4 separate regions of the Homo sapiens genome follow, and all the other regions are linked to region 1. Evidence: promoter capture Hi-C in 16 types of primary human blood cells and fetal thymus (Javierre and others, 2016). All regions are on one chromosome and are shown on one strand. The core of a region is centred on a gene start or on the middle of the fragment in contact, and the rest is flanking DNA. Distances in the headings are between cores, read along the strand shown. Region 1 holds the start of KIAA1191. Region 2 has its middle 14 kb from the start of FGFR4. Region 3 overlaps UIMC1 (ubiquitin interaction motif containing 1). Region 4 overlaps UIMC1 (ubiquitin interaction motif containing 1).

What was found. Contacts are between HindIII fragments. The CHiCAGO score rates a contact against its expected background, and 5 or more counts as called.
Region 2: a fragment that was not itself captured here is called in contact with the fragment with the promoter of KIAA1191 in region 1 in 1 of 17 cell types (naive B cells); the score reaches 5.1 in naive B cells.
Region 3: a fragment that was not itself captured here is called in contact with the fragment with the promoter of KIAA1191 in region 1 in 1 of 17 cell types (naive CD4 T cells); the score reaches 5.3 in naive CD4 T cells.
Region 4: a fragment that was not itself captured here is called in contact with the fragment with the promoter of KIAA1191 in region 1 in 5 of 17 cell types (naive B cells, total B cells, naive CD4 T cells and 2 more); the score reaches 6.3 in naive B cells.

What each region holds. Positions count from the first base shown.
Region 1 is chr5:176,360,235-176,363,260 of GRCh38, forward strand. KIAA1191 reads right to left here and starts at 1,530. Exons shown (of 9, transcript NM_020444.5): 1 at 1,368-1,530. RefSeq lists an enhancer at 1,286-1,605. The HindIII fragment of the contact is 14,901 bases long and covers 1-3,026 here.
Region 2 is chr5:177,071,577-177,074,602 of GRCh38, forward strand. It overlaps a transcript of ZNF346 not described here. Among named protein-coding and RNA genes, the nearest start is that of FGFR4, 14 kb to the right of the region's middle. The HindIII fragment of the contact is 2,298 bases long and covers 344-2,641 here.
Region 3 is chr5:176,993,272-176,996,297 of GRCh38, forward strand. The region is part of intron 1 of UIMC1 (ubiquitin interaction motif containing 1); the gene reads right to left. Among named protein-coding and RNA genes, the nearest start is that of UIMC1, 12 kb to the right of the region's middle. The HindIII fragment of the contact is 4,492 bases long and covers 1-3,026 here.
Region 4 is chr5:176,963,775-176,966,800 of GRCh38, forward strand. All of the region lies in intron 6 of UIMC1 (ubiquitin interaction motif containing 1), which reads right to left. Among named protein-coding and RNA genes, the nearest start is that of UIMC1, 41 kb to the right of the region's middle. The HindIII fragment of the contact is 2,607 bases long and covers 261-2,867 here.

The DNA of each region.
Region 1 (3,026 bases), core at 280-2,779:
CAAGCTCCACCTCCCGGGTTCACGCCATTCTCCTGCCTTAGCCTCCCAAGTAGCTGGGACTACAGGCGTCTGCCACCACGCCTGGCTAATTTTTTGTATTTTTAGTAGAGATGGGGTTTCACCGCACTAGCCAGGATGGTCTTGATCTCCTGACCTTGCGATCCGCCCACCTCGGCCTCCCAAAGTGCTAGGATTACAAGCGTGAGCCACCGCGCCCGACCCCAGTTTTTTTTTTAAGCTATCTCTTACAGAAAGGCTATCCCAAATTTAAAGAGAAGGAAACTGGCCGGGTGCGGTGGCTCACGCCTGTAATCCCAGCATTTTGCGAGACCCAGGCGGGCAGATCACTTGAGGTCAGGAGTTCGAGACTAGCCTGGCCAACATGGTGAAACCCCATCTCTACTAAAAATACAAAAATTAGCCGGGCATGGTGGCGGGCGCCTGTAATCCCAGCTACTCGGGAGGCTGAGGCAGGAGAATAGCTTGAACCCGGGAGGCGGAGGTTGCAGTGAGCCGAGATCGAGCCACTGTACTCCAGCCTGGGCGACGGAGTGAGACTCGGTCTCAAAAATAAAAATTAAAAAAATTAAAAAAATGTTAAAAATAATAATAAAGAGAAGGAAACTAAAAATCAGAGGAGTTAAGTAAATTTGTCCACGGTCACAGATAAGTGGTCCGTGCGCAAGGTAGGTAGTTTCATGCCCAGTTTACAGGGGAGTTAAAACGAGGGCCTGAGAAAGTTACTCTTGTTTTTCAGCTTGCTACACCGTCCCTCTATCCCGATAGGACTCAGACAGAGCAAACAAGTTATTGATAGTTCTTCACTAACGAGCATCGCAAAGGCCGAATTCAGCCATCCTCCCAGTCCAGGGAGCATTCCCGCCCCAGACACGTCCCCTTCCCCTTTCCCTTTCCCTGTGCCCCCACCCCCCAGCTCACCGTCCCTCTGCCTCTCCTTCACAATATACAAGACGGTGCCGCCAGGATACGAAAGGCCGGCTGCTTCACCCACCCCTCCAGGCTAAGATTAGGGCCAGGACCCTAGCCGAAGGCGGGGTGTGGGGAGATGAGGTTGAGGACAAGCCGCGGGGGCTCGGGCTGGGCTGGTCCCACGAAGCGGAGGGGAAGCCCGTACGGGAGCTGCAGGGCATTCCCGGAGAGAAGCCCCATTACGGAGACCCCAGAGAGCGGAGCCAGGGAGGCAAGAGGCGACCCAGCCGAGCTCGAAGCCGGGATGAAGGGTTAAGAGGTGCGGGGAGAGGGGAGTGGCTTGGAGGGGCCCCGAGATCGGGCCTCGCCGGAAGCGCCCCTCCTGATCGCCAGAGAACGCAGCCCCAAGGGAGGGCCCAGGCCCGCCATCTGTTCACCTGTGATCCTGCTGCCGCGGGACTGCCTGCGGCCCGGAGTCCGGCACTAAAAAGGTTCCGAGGGCCCACGTCTCCCGAGAGGCTGTGGCGCAGTCTGGACCCAAGCCATTGTGAGAGCGGCGGCGATTTCGAAGGTCCCCAAGACCCACTAGGTAGCAGTACCACCCAGCGGGCAGGCAGCACTGCAGATAAAGCCTCCGGAGACCGCGGGATCTCGCGCGAGACTTGGCCCAGCGGAGCACAGGGCATGCTGGGAGTTGTTGTCCACGATCGCGAGACCCGCCCCCTCCCCATGCCCTTCGCCGCCCAGCGAGTTGTGGAGCCGCAGCTCCGAGTGTGGAATCCGCCAGCCCCGAGAGGAAACGCCACACTTCACCACCACTTCCTCAGCGCGTGTGCTGTGCCTGGGTCCGTGACAAGCTAAGGGAAGACGGAGGTAGCATAGTAAAATGACACCCACAAACCCAAGCCCTCAAGGCTCAAAAAGGGCTGCCAAGTGCGAGCACTTGTCATCCTGTTTTTCCCACTTCACGGAGGTGAAGCTGAGACTGGGAGAGATGAGAAGTCACTTCGATTAGCAAGCGGTGCAGTGAGCACGGACTGTCTCCCAAAACAGCGGGGTTAGGCAGGGTTCGTACTAGTAGCTGAACCAAAAAAGGGAACCGACCTCACCTGCCTCCCCTAGGGAAGGCGATCCTAATATCATTTCTCTTTTACATAAAGGAGAGTGAGGCTTAGAGGCGCCAGCTGAGGTGTCAGTCACATCCTGAAGGAAGACTTCTCTTATCCCTGAAGGGTTCACAAAGAAGGCGAAGCAACGAAGTTACAGCAGAATTTGCAAAAATCTATCCACGTTTCTACCCCAGTCCAAAGCTCGCCATCAAAACTCATCTCAGGAGAGCTATGATTGGTGGTGCAGGGTGAATGTCACATTTAGATTTCAGCATTTGAGGCTTCCAGCCGTACTGGCAGAACTGAGAGGCCTTGCTCATGCGACTTGAAACTTAAGCGCTGTTTCCAGACCAGGGTGCTTGAGTGCACTAAGAATTAAAGTCTTTGATGAATTCTATAATTAGCTTATCAACAGCACAATTACATTGCAGTATAATTGTGTGTATATGTGTGCGTGCGTGTGTGTGTTAAAGGTGTTCCTTTGTTAATTTGGAGCTTTTAAAATATGCCATATTTTTTAACCTCTGTGGAAGCAAAGCTGGCACCTTGCTCTTTATCCACCACAGGAAGGGATGTATATCACCTCTCAGTCAGAAAAGGAAGAAATAGCACTTTGCACCCTTATGTAGATCATAAGGTGGGATCATCTCATTTATTTCTTAGCCACAAATACATGAAAACTTAAGACTTTCCTGGAAGTTACTATTTGATTAAAACAACTTTTTCTGGCTGGGCACGGTGGTTCAGGCCTGTAATCCCAACACTTTCAGAGGCTGAGGCGTTCGAGACCATCCTGGCCAACACGGCGAAACCCCGTCTCTACTAAAATACAAAAATCAGCCAGGCGTAGTGACAGGTGCCTGTAATCCCAGCTATTCTGGAGACTGAGGCAGGAGAATCTCTTGAACCTGGGAGACGGAGGCTGCAGTCTGCCTTGTCCTAGGTACCCCCAGTGACTGCCAAGGCTTCCACGTGTGTAGCACGAGG
Region 2 (3,026 bases), core at 243-2,742, 710 kb after region 1:
CGGGAGGCTGAGGCAGGAGAATGGCATGAACCCGGGAGGCGGAGCTTGCAGTGAGCTGAGATCGTGCCACTGCACTCCAGCCTGGGCGACAGAGCGAGACTCTGTCTCAAAAAAAAAAAAAGAAGAAGAAGAAGAAAGCCCTTCCTTCCCTCACAGCAGTCCCTGCCAGATGAGCTGTCCCCACCCCCAAACCAGATGCTCTGATGAGCAGTCACTAGTGTAAAATACAATAGGAAGAACACTTTCTCCCTCTGACCATCCATCCACCTAACCTCACCTCTCTGCCCTGTGCAAAGCCCTGTTACAGAGACAGGGCAGACCCGTCCCCGGCCTGTCTCTCCCAAGCTTACTGTTCATATATGCTGCTTCATCTGTCTAGGAATATCAGAACGCAGTTCTGTAAATGTTCAACTCTTCAGTGCAATGACCCCATTAGCCACTAGGTGGAGTCAGCTTCTTTTTTCTAGCAAGGTAGACCAGCCCTGGGACTTTACTGTTTGATTTAATGGGAAGAGAACAGGGTGACTTCACGAGCCCCTGTATATGCTATTTCAGTTAACCCTCAGGACAACTGGCAAAGACTTGATTTCACAGGAGAAAGTCAGGGACAAAGTCTTGCAGAGCTTACACAACCAAGAAGTAGCCTTGGAGAGAGATTTGATCTTAGCACTTCTGCTCATTCCCAAGGCCGATTTCCCCTTCCCTCAGGACATTTCCCTCAGGAGGCCCTCTCTGTTTGAGGGCTGTAACTTAGTCACCTGTCTAGAAGTACACCTGATGTCAGGCCAGCTCCACAGCCCTTCTTTTCCTTTTCTCCTTTGGGTGACAAACCTGCTCCATTCTCAGATCCTGTGGTTCCGAGGGACTGGCCCTGCTCTCTGATTCCAGGAGTGAGCCTGTGACCCGACTGAGTAATCACAGTCATAGTCTTCAGCTGTTAGTGTCCAGCATGTAAGGACAGCCTGCTTCAGAACTAAGCCAACACAGAGGAGGCCGGGCTCGGTGGCTCACACCTGTAACCCCAGTACTTTGGGAGGCCAAAGCAGGCAGATTACTTGAAGTCAGGAGTTCAAGGCCAGCTGGCCAACATGATGAAACCCTGTCTCTACTAAAAATACAAAAATTAGTCAGGCGTGGTGGCGCACGTCTGTAGTCCCAGCTACTCAGGAGGCTGAGGCAGGAGTATTGCTTGAACCCGTGAGGCGGAGGTTGCAGTGAGCCGAGATCACACCACTGTACTCCAGATAAGGAGAGACTCATTTCTGATGACTACCTGGATCCAGCTATGCCTGAAGCTAATATCCCCCAGGACTTTTTAGTTATGACTTTTCTTTAAGTCAGTTGAGTTTCTATAACTTGCAACCAAGATTTCTGCCTAATACTTGCTCCAGCTCCCCTTGTCAACCTGGGGACCTCCACTCATCCAGAGATCACTGGCCCCCAAGGCCAAGTTGGCTGCCCTTTGTGTTCCCAGATGCCCTGTGTTCCCCTCTAGCATAGCCCTTAATATGCTGTGTTACGATGATCTAATTCCCTGTCTCTTCTTTTAGACTAGAAACTGCTTGAGGGCAGGAATTGGGTCTTATGATACTGCATCCCTGGTCCCTAGCATAGGACTGTGCTTATGTTTTAATAACTGCTTGGTGATTGAATACATTAATGAATAAATGAATAAAAATGGGTATGGTCTGGTAGGGACCATTGCTGGGATTTCACAGGAAAGACATTTATTTTGTTTGTTTTTTGAAACAGCGTCTCACTCTGTCACACAGGCTGGAATGCAGTGGTGCAAACACAGCTCATTGCAGCCTCGACCTCACTGACTCAAGTGATCCTCCCACCTCAGCCTCCCGAGTAGCTGGGACTACAGGCGCACACCACCACACCCAGCTAATTATCTTATTTTTTGTAGACACAAGGTCCCACTGTGTTGCCCAGGCTGGTCTTGAACTCCTGAGCTCAAACGATCCTCCCACCTCGGCCTACCAGAGTGCTGGGATTGCAGACGTGAGCCACCGCACCTGGCCGGAAAGACTTATTGAGGGAGATGATCCTCTAGTGGTCATGAAGGTCAAAGGAGCCAGGTTGCTGGGGTGGGAGGAGGCTTAGTGAAAGGAACTAGAAGAGGCGAGTTGTGGAACACAGTTGATTGTTTCAATAATGGCCTCCCATGAATCATTGCCTCCCTGTGCCTGTGTCCTTTTGCAATGTGACTTTATCATTGCTCCCATCAAGATCGGGCGGGCGGGGGAGGGGGGGGGTCCATTTCCCAGTCTCTTGAATCTGAACTAGTCTTGTGAGTTGCTTTGATCAGAGAATTCAGTAACATGACTGTACGACTTCCAAGGTTAGGACTTAAGTGCTCATGCAGCTTCCGTTCCTGACCCTGTGAAAGGAAGTTTGGGCTAGACCATGTGGCGACCACAGACCAGGTAGAGAGAGAAGCCAACAGCCAGCTCCATACATGTGAGGGAGGACATCCCAGACCCTCTAGCATAGCCAATCCACAGCATAAGCAGAACTGCCACCTGAGCCCAGCTAATCACAGAATTGTGAGAAATAATACATTGTTTTAAATAATTAAGTTTGGGAACAGTTTGTGCAGTAAAGGCTCACAGAATCACTAGGTATAATAATCAGAAGCTTCCTAGTGTCTGTTTACCCTTCTTCCTATAATAAGCTTTTCTTTGAAAAACCCCACCCTCAGCTTATGTAGTCCGGGTGGGGAAGACCTCCACTCTCCTGGCTTTTGCCAGAACAGTTGAGAAGTTGCCAAGTGGGAATGTCTCGAGCCCAGAGCTGTTAGTGGCCTTCTTTGTCACTTCTTAGGGAGCACCTGTCATAGAGAAGAAGACAGAAGAGAGAATGAGTTTTGACCATACTGTTGGGAACCAGGATCAAGCTGTTTCTGGAGCCTGATTCACACCAGGACTTACAGTCATGCTCCTGTAGTCCCAGCTACTCAGGAGACTAAGGCAGGAGAATTTCTTAGGCCCAGGAGTTCACATCCAGCCTGGGCAGCACAA
Region 3 (3,026 bases), core at 219-2,718, 630 kb after region 1:
ACCTCCTAGACTCAAGCAATTCTTCCATCTCAACCTCCCAAGTAGCTAGGACCACAGGCATGTGCCACCACACCCAGCTAATTTACTTTTTATTTTTTGTAGAGACAAGGTCTCACTACATTGCCCAGACTGGTCTCGAACTCCTGGGCTCAAGTGATCCTCCCACCCAGGTCTCCCAAAGTGCTGGGATTACAGATGTGAGCCTCCATGCCCAGGCACAAATATTTTCTTACCTTTTAAAAATATATCTAATCATCATGGCACGAATATACCTATATAAAAAACCTGTACGTTCTGCACATGTACCCCAGAACTTAAAGACTTAAAGTCTAATAATTATAAAGTATCTCTACTGATAATTTGTAAGGCACAACCACAACATATGTATATTTACTTTTTTAACTATATGAATACTAATGTATGTATTTTGTGTACTGGAAAACATACAAAAATCTGCCAGGCGCGGTGGCTCACGCCTGTAATCCCACCACATTGGGAGGCTGAGGCAGGAGGATCACCTGAGGTCAGGAGTTTGAGACCAGCCTGGTCAACATGGTGAAACCCCGTCTCTACTAAAAATACAAAAATTAGCTGGGAATGGTGGCAGGCACTTGTAGTCCCAGCTACTTGGGAGGCTGAGGCAGGAGAACTGCTTGCACTCAGGAAGCAGAGGTTGCAGTGAGCCAAGATCACACCACTGCAGTCCAGCCTGGGTAACAAGAGTGAAACTCTATCTCAAAAAAAAAAAAAAAGAAGAAAGTATACAAAAATCAAAGTGTGAAAAGGATGAAATAGTAAAAAACACTTGGGTAATGCAGCATAAACATGCTTATTAAACACATAAACACTGGGAGGCTGGCTATGTCACTTTACATCTCTAGGTGGATTCCAAAAATTACACTCCAGCCTGAACAACACACTGAGACCCTATCTCAAAAGAAAAAATAAAAAAAGACAAACCAATATTTAAAAGAAGCAAGCGATATTAACAAACTTCACAAAAGCAGATATACTAAAGGCCAATAAGGAAAAACAAACAGATATTCAATATCATTATTCATCAAGAAATTACAAATTAAATTTACAATGGCCTAACACTGTATATCCATTAGAATGGCTAAAATTGAAAATAGTGACAATACAAATGTGGGCAGGAATGCAGAATATAATGAACCTCTCATATACTGCTAATGGGAATGTAAAATGGCATAACCACTTTGGAAAACTGGCAGTTTCTTTAAAAAAAAAAAAAAAAAAAAAGTATAACTGTCATGTAAGCCAGTCATTCTGTTGCAGGAATCTGGAGACTGGAGAGACCAATGCGTGGAACAGGAGGATTTTCTTTAGGTGGCCACCAGCCCAGCAGATTAACATCCAAAGGCTGAGCCCTCAACAAAGACAGGGCTTGACTTTTATACACACTTCTGAAAGGGAGTTGGCTAGTTTGAATGGTGCGGTGGGAATGTGACAGTGCGAAACTCATGGGGCAGGCAAGCAGGCTTACAGAAGCAGAACAAAGGCAGTTAATTAAATTGCGACAGGTCTCGCAACGCAGGCATAGCTTGTGATCATGCAGCTGCACAGTAGGGAAAACAGGAACTTACAAAACTTGTGAAACACAGGTATTTGTAGAAATAGTTATGAGAAAGGAATTTGTTTTCTTTTCTTATCCTCACTCTGGGGCGGGGTGTGGGGGGCAGTGTGCTGGGAGAGTATCTGGAGCTCATTCCTTTGGGCTCTGGCTTTTCAGATAGTGTTATCAAGGCTCTGCCAGGGCCCTGCCTATTGCTGGCCTTGGAGTGAGTCAGCCAAGTACAGGAAAACTTGTTTTTCTCTTTTTAACTTTGCTTCAATTCCACTACTATTAATTACTCAGTAGAAATGAAAACATTACCACCCAAAAACTTGTATATGTATGTTCATAGCAGCTCTTTCCATAATGTCAAACACCAAAGACAACCCAGATTCCATCAACAGATGAAATGACAACTTGTGGGCTGGGCATGGTGGCTCACACTTGTAATCCCAGCACTTTGGGAGGTCGAGATAGGCAGATTGCTTGAGGACAAGGATTTGAGACCAGCCTGGCCAACACAGTGAAACCCCGTCTTTACTAAAAATGCAAAAATTAGCTGGGTGTGGTGACATGCACCTGTAATTCCAGTTACTCAGGAGGCTGGGGTAGGAGAATTGAATTGCTTGAACTCAGGAGCCGAGACCATACCACTGCACTCCAGACTGGGTGACAGAGAAAGACTCTGTCTCCAAAAAAAAAAAAAAAAAAAAAAAAGGCCAGGCACGGTGGCTCACACCTGTAATCCTAGCACTTTGGGAGTCCAAGGCGGGTGGATCACGAGGTGAAAAGATCGAGACCATCCTGGCTAACACAGTGAAACCCCATCTCTACTACAAACACAAAAAATTAGCCAGGCATGGTGGCAGGAGCCCGTAGTCCCAGCTACTTGGGAGGTTGAGGCAGGACAATCGCTTGAACCTGGGAGGCAGAGGTTGCGGTGAGCCGAGATCATGCCATTGCACTCCAGCCTGGGCAACAAGAGTGAAACTCCATCTCAAAAAAAAAAAAAAAAAAAAAGGAATATAAAGTGGTACATCCACTTTGGAAAACAGTTTGGGAGTTTCTTAAAAAATAAGCATGTATCTACTACATTACCCAGCCATTTCATTCCTAGGTATTTACTCAAGAGAAATAAAGACGTGAATGTTCATCATAGCAGCCTTAGTCATAAGGGACAAAAACTGGAAATAACCCACATATCCATCAACATGTGAATAAACAAATTGAGACCTATCTCTACAATGAAAAATTGCTCAACAATAAAACGGAACAAACTACTGATGCATCCAACGACACAGATGAATCTCAAAGACATTATGGTGAGCAAAAGAAGCAATGTCTAAAAGACTACAAACTATGATTCTACCTGTATGAAACTAGAAAAAAACTAATCAACAGTTAAAGGAAAACAGACCAGCATTTGCCTGGAGCCAGGTCAGAAGAGGAAGAG
Region 4 (3,026 bases), core at 314-2,813, 600 kb after region 1:
ATACATACATCAGCGTGAAGTTTGGCAAATCAAAGTCAGTTCTCACAACCCCACACAATCTGGTCATTTCTGATAAAAAAAAAAAAATTCCAATATCCGGACTGAAAAATTAAGTATCAGATTCTGAAAAGTAGTAACCACATTAACATACTACCCCTTCCAACTCCTTGTCATAATGCTCTCAAGGTGATCTACAGGCCTTCATTAGCAACTTTATCTTGTCTCAGTGATGCCAAAAACCAGTTATCATCTGATTCTAAAGCTTTAATAACCTTAATATAGACTAAGTTATGTGCCCCAAAGTGAATGTTTCTCTGAGTCCCTATTTTTGAGACTCTCTTGCTATCTCTATCAACCAAGAAGTCTCAAATACAGGCAGCTCCACCAAAGCTGTGTTCAATAGAAAATGTTTAACAAACGAATTCTTTCTACCCACATTTCCTGAAAGCAAAAGATTGAGAGGTAAAACTACAATCACAGGACCTACATTATTTGCCTATAAAATTAGTTGAAGTTTGTTTTTTAAAGGTACAATTATTTGTTGGCAAGGCTTCAGTGAACTAGATATTCTCATACATTGCCAAATGGAGAGAATACAAATTGTAACAGCCTTTCTGACAAGCAATTTGGCAATAAATATCAAGTCTTTATGTTCATAACTCTTTAACCCATCATTTTTATGGCTCATGACTAAGTACACTGATGAGGAATAAAGAAAAGTTTCATATAGAAAGATATCACAACTGAAATATCCAGCAATAGAAAAATGTTTAAAATATTATGGTAAATTCATAAACTGGAATATAATATAGCCATTAAAAGTGAAATATATAATTTAACATGAGAAAATGTCTACATGATATTAAAGATACAAAAATAATATGATCTGAACCATACAAAAAATAGGTAATATTCTTTAAACTTTTCAGCATTTTTTAACATCTCCAAGTGATTTTTTTATTAAAGTTAATGTCTATATGCTTACTAGGTTGTCTGCCTTGTCTGCTTTCACTGAGGACTGTCCCTCACCCCTCCCATTCCCATTAGCAGTGGGCTTACAGCCAATTTGACAAGTAACCTCCATCAAGCCACAGCTGACTGGGCTACTGACACCAAATGGGCCATAAATCCTTTCCTGAAAATTTAAAATTTGAATTGGGAGAGATTAAGTCTCCTGTAACCCATAATAAGTTTGAGAGCTATAGAATCAGTGTCTTCAACCTACACCTGAAAAACAAAAGCAAAAGAGTGCCAAGTCTGCAGGGAGAAAAATGAAGCAGACACAATATAACCATGAGATACAGAAAAATCAGATGCCCAGTACCTTCTTTGGGCCTGGTTATAGTTCTATTTTAAAACTTCTGAAGCCAGGCGCGGTGGCTCACGCCTGTAATCCCAGCACTTTCGGAGGCCAAGGTGGGTGGATCACGAGGTCAGGAGATCGAGACCATCCTGGCTAACACGGTGAAAACCCTTCTCTATTAAAAATACATAAAAAATTAGGCGGGTGTGGTGGCGGGCACCTGTAGTCCCAGCTACTCAGGAGGCTGAGGCAGGAGAATGCGTGAACCCGGGAGGTGGAGCTTACAGTGAGCCAAGACTATGCCACTGCACTCCAGCCTGCGCAACACAGAGAGACTCCATCTCAAAAAAAAAAAAAACTTCTGAGATACCTCGCTTCCTTATAAAGTCCTCTTTTAATTTTTTTATTTTTATTTATTTATTTTAGTAGAGACAAGGTCTCACTAAGTTGCCTGGGTTGGTCTCAAACTCCCAGGCTCAAATGAATTCTCCTGCTTCAGCTTCCCAAAATGCTGAGATTAGGCATTAGCCATTGTGCCTAGCCAAGTCCTCTTTTTAATTAAGCTAGCTTAATTCAGTTTACTGCAGCAAATAGTATTAACTGATAATACTACCTGTAGTATTTGGTGGTCTGGTCATGAAGTTAAGAGTCAAAGAACTTCAATCTAATTAAGACCATCCACTAGATTTTGACTTCTTCCAGGCTACTGCAAAGGCAGTACTTTCAAACTTGACACAACACAGAACTTGACACAAGTCTATGATGTAGAGCTCTGGCCCCTGGGATCTTGCAAGCTAACAACTTGAATTACAATAAATCATTAAGTGTCACTCTTTGGAGTTAATGTATTATTTTAAGAAGCAGCATCTCCGAATTGGAAAGAACAAACTAAACATTTATCATAAGCATCATGTAACTTTCCTTTGGAAAAGAAACCAGTCACTAAAATAACTATTTCTTAAAAATGCCTTCTTTGCTGATATACCTTCAGAAAAAAAATTTCTTTAAATAAAAATGCCTTCTCTTCCTAGACAACAATCTTTCCAGAATGTGAATGAAGATGGTTACTAGGAAATAATGATTCCTAGAGGCATCTCCCCAGTGAATGACCTTTGATCCCTTAGAGAGAATTACCAGTTGTTCAGTGCCTATGCTATGCATTGCAGTAGACATTTTACACAAATTCACTTTAATCATTAAAATAACTGTCGAAAGATAGGAATTGTTATTCCCACTGTATAGACGTGAAACTGGGATTCAAAGAGGTTAAGTGACTTGCTCAAAAACACACAAATTACTAAACACAAAAATCAGAACTCAACTCCAAATCCATGTTCTCTATTCTATGAAGCTCCTCAAAGTTACCATTTCTTGAACCTTTATCATAACACAAGAAAGACAGAATAACATAATAGTAAAACAAAACCAAAAGTCAAAGTCTGGTAACAGAAATAGCAAGAAAAAACAGTATAGTCATAAAACAGAATACTCTTTAAAATTACAATTTATATATAAAGAGTTTATATTATTGCTTTATAATATTCAAAGGGAAAAATAAGATATAAGCTTTCATACACAATATAATCTAGCTACTTCAGAAAAAGCAAACTAAATGTACCAAGATGAAGATTGGTTTCAATAAATTATTCAAAACCACTACAAGCAAAATAATAAATATACACCATTATGTAATGGGAAAAAATAACTCGGAAACTATCCATAC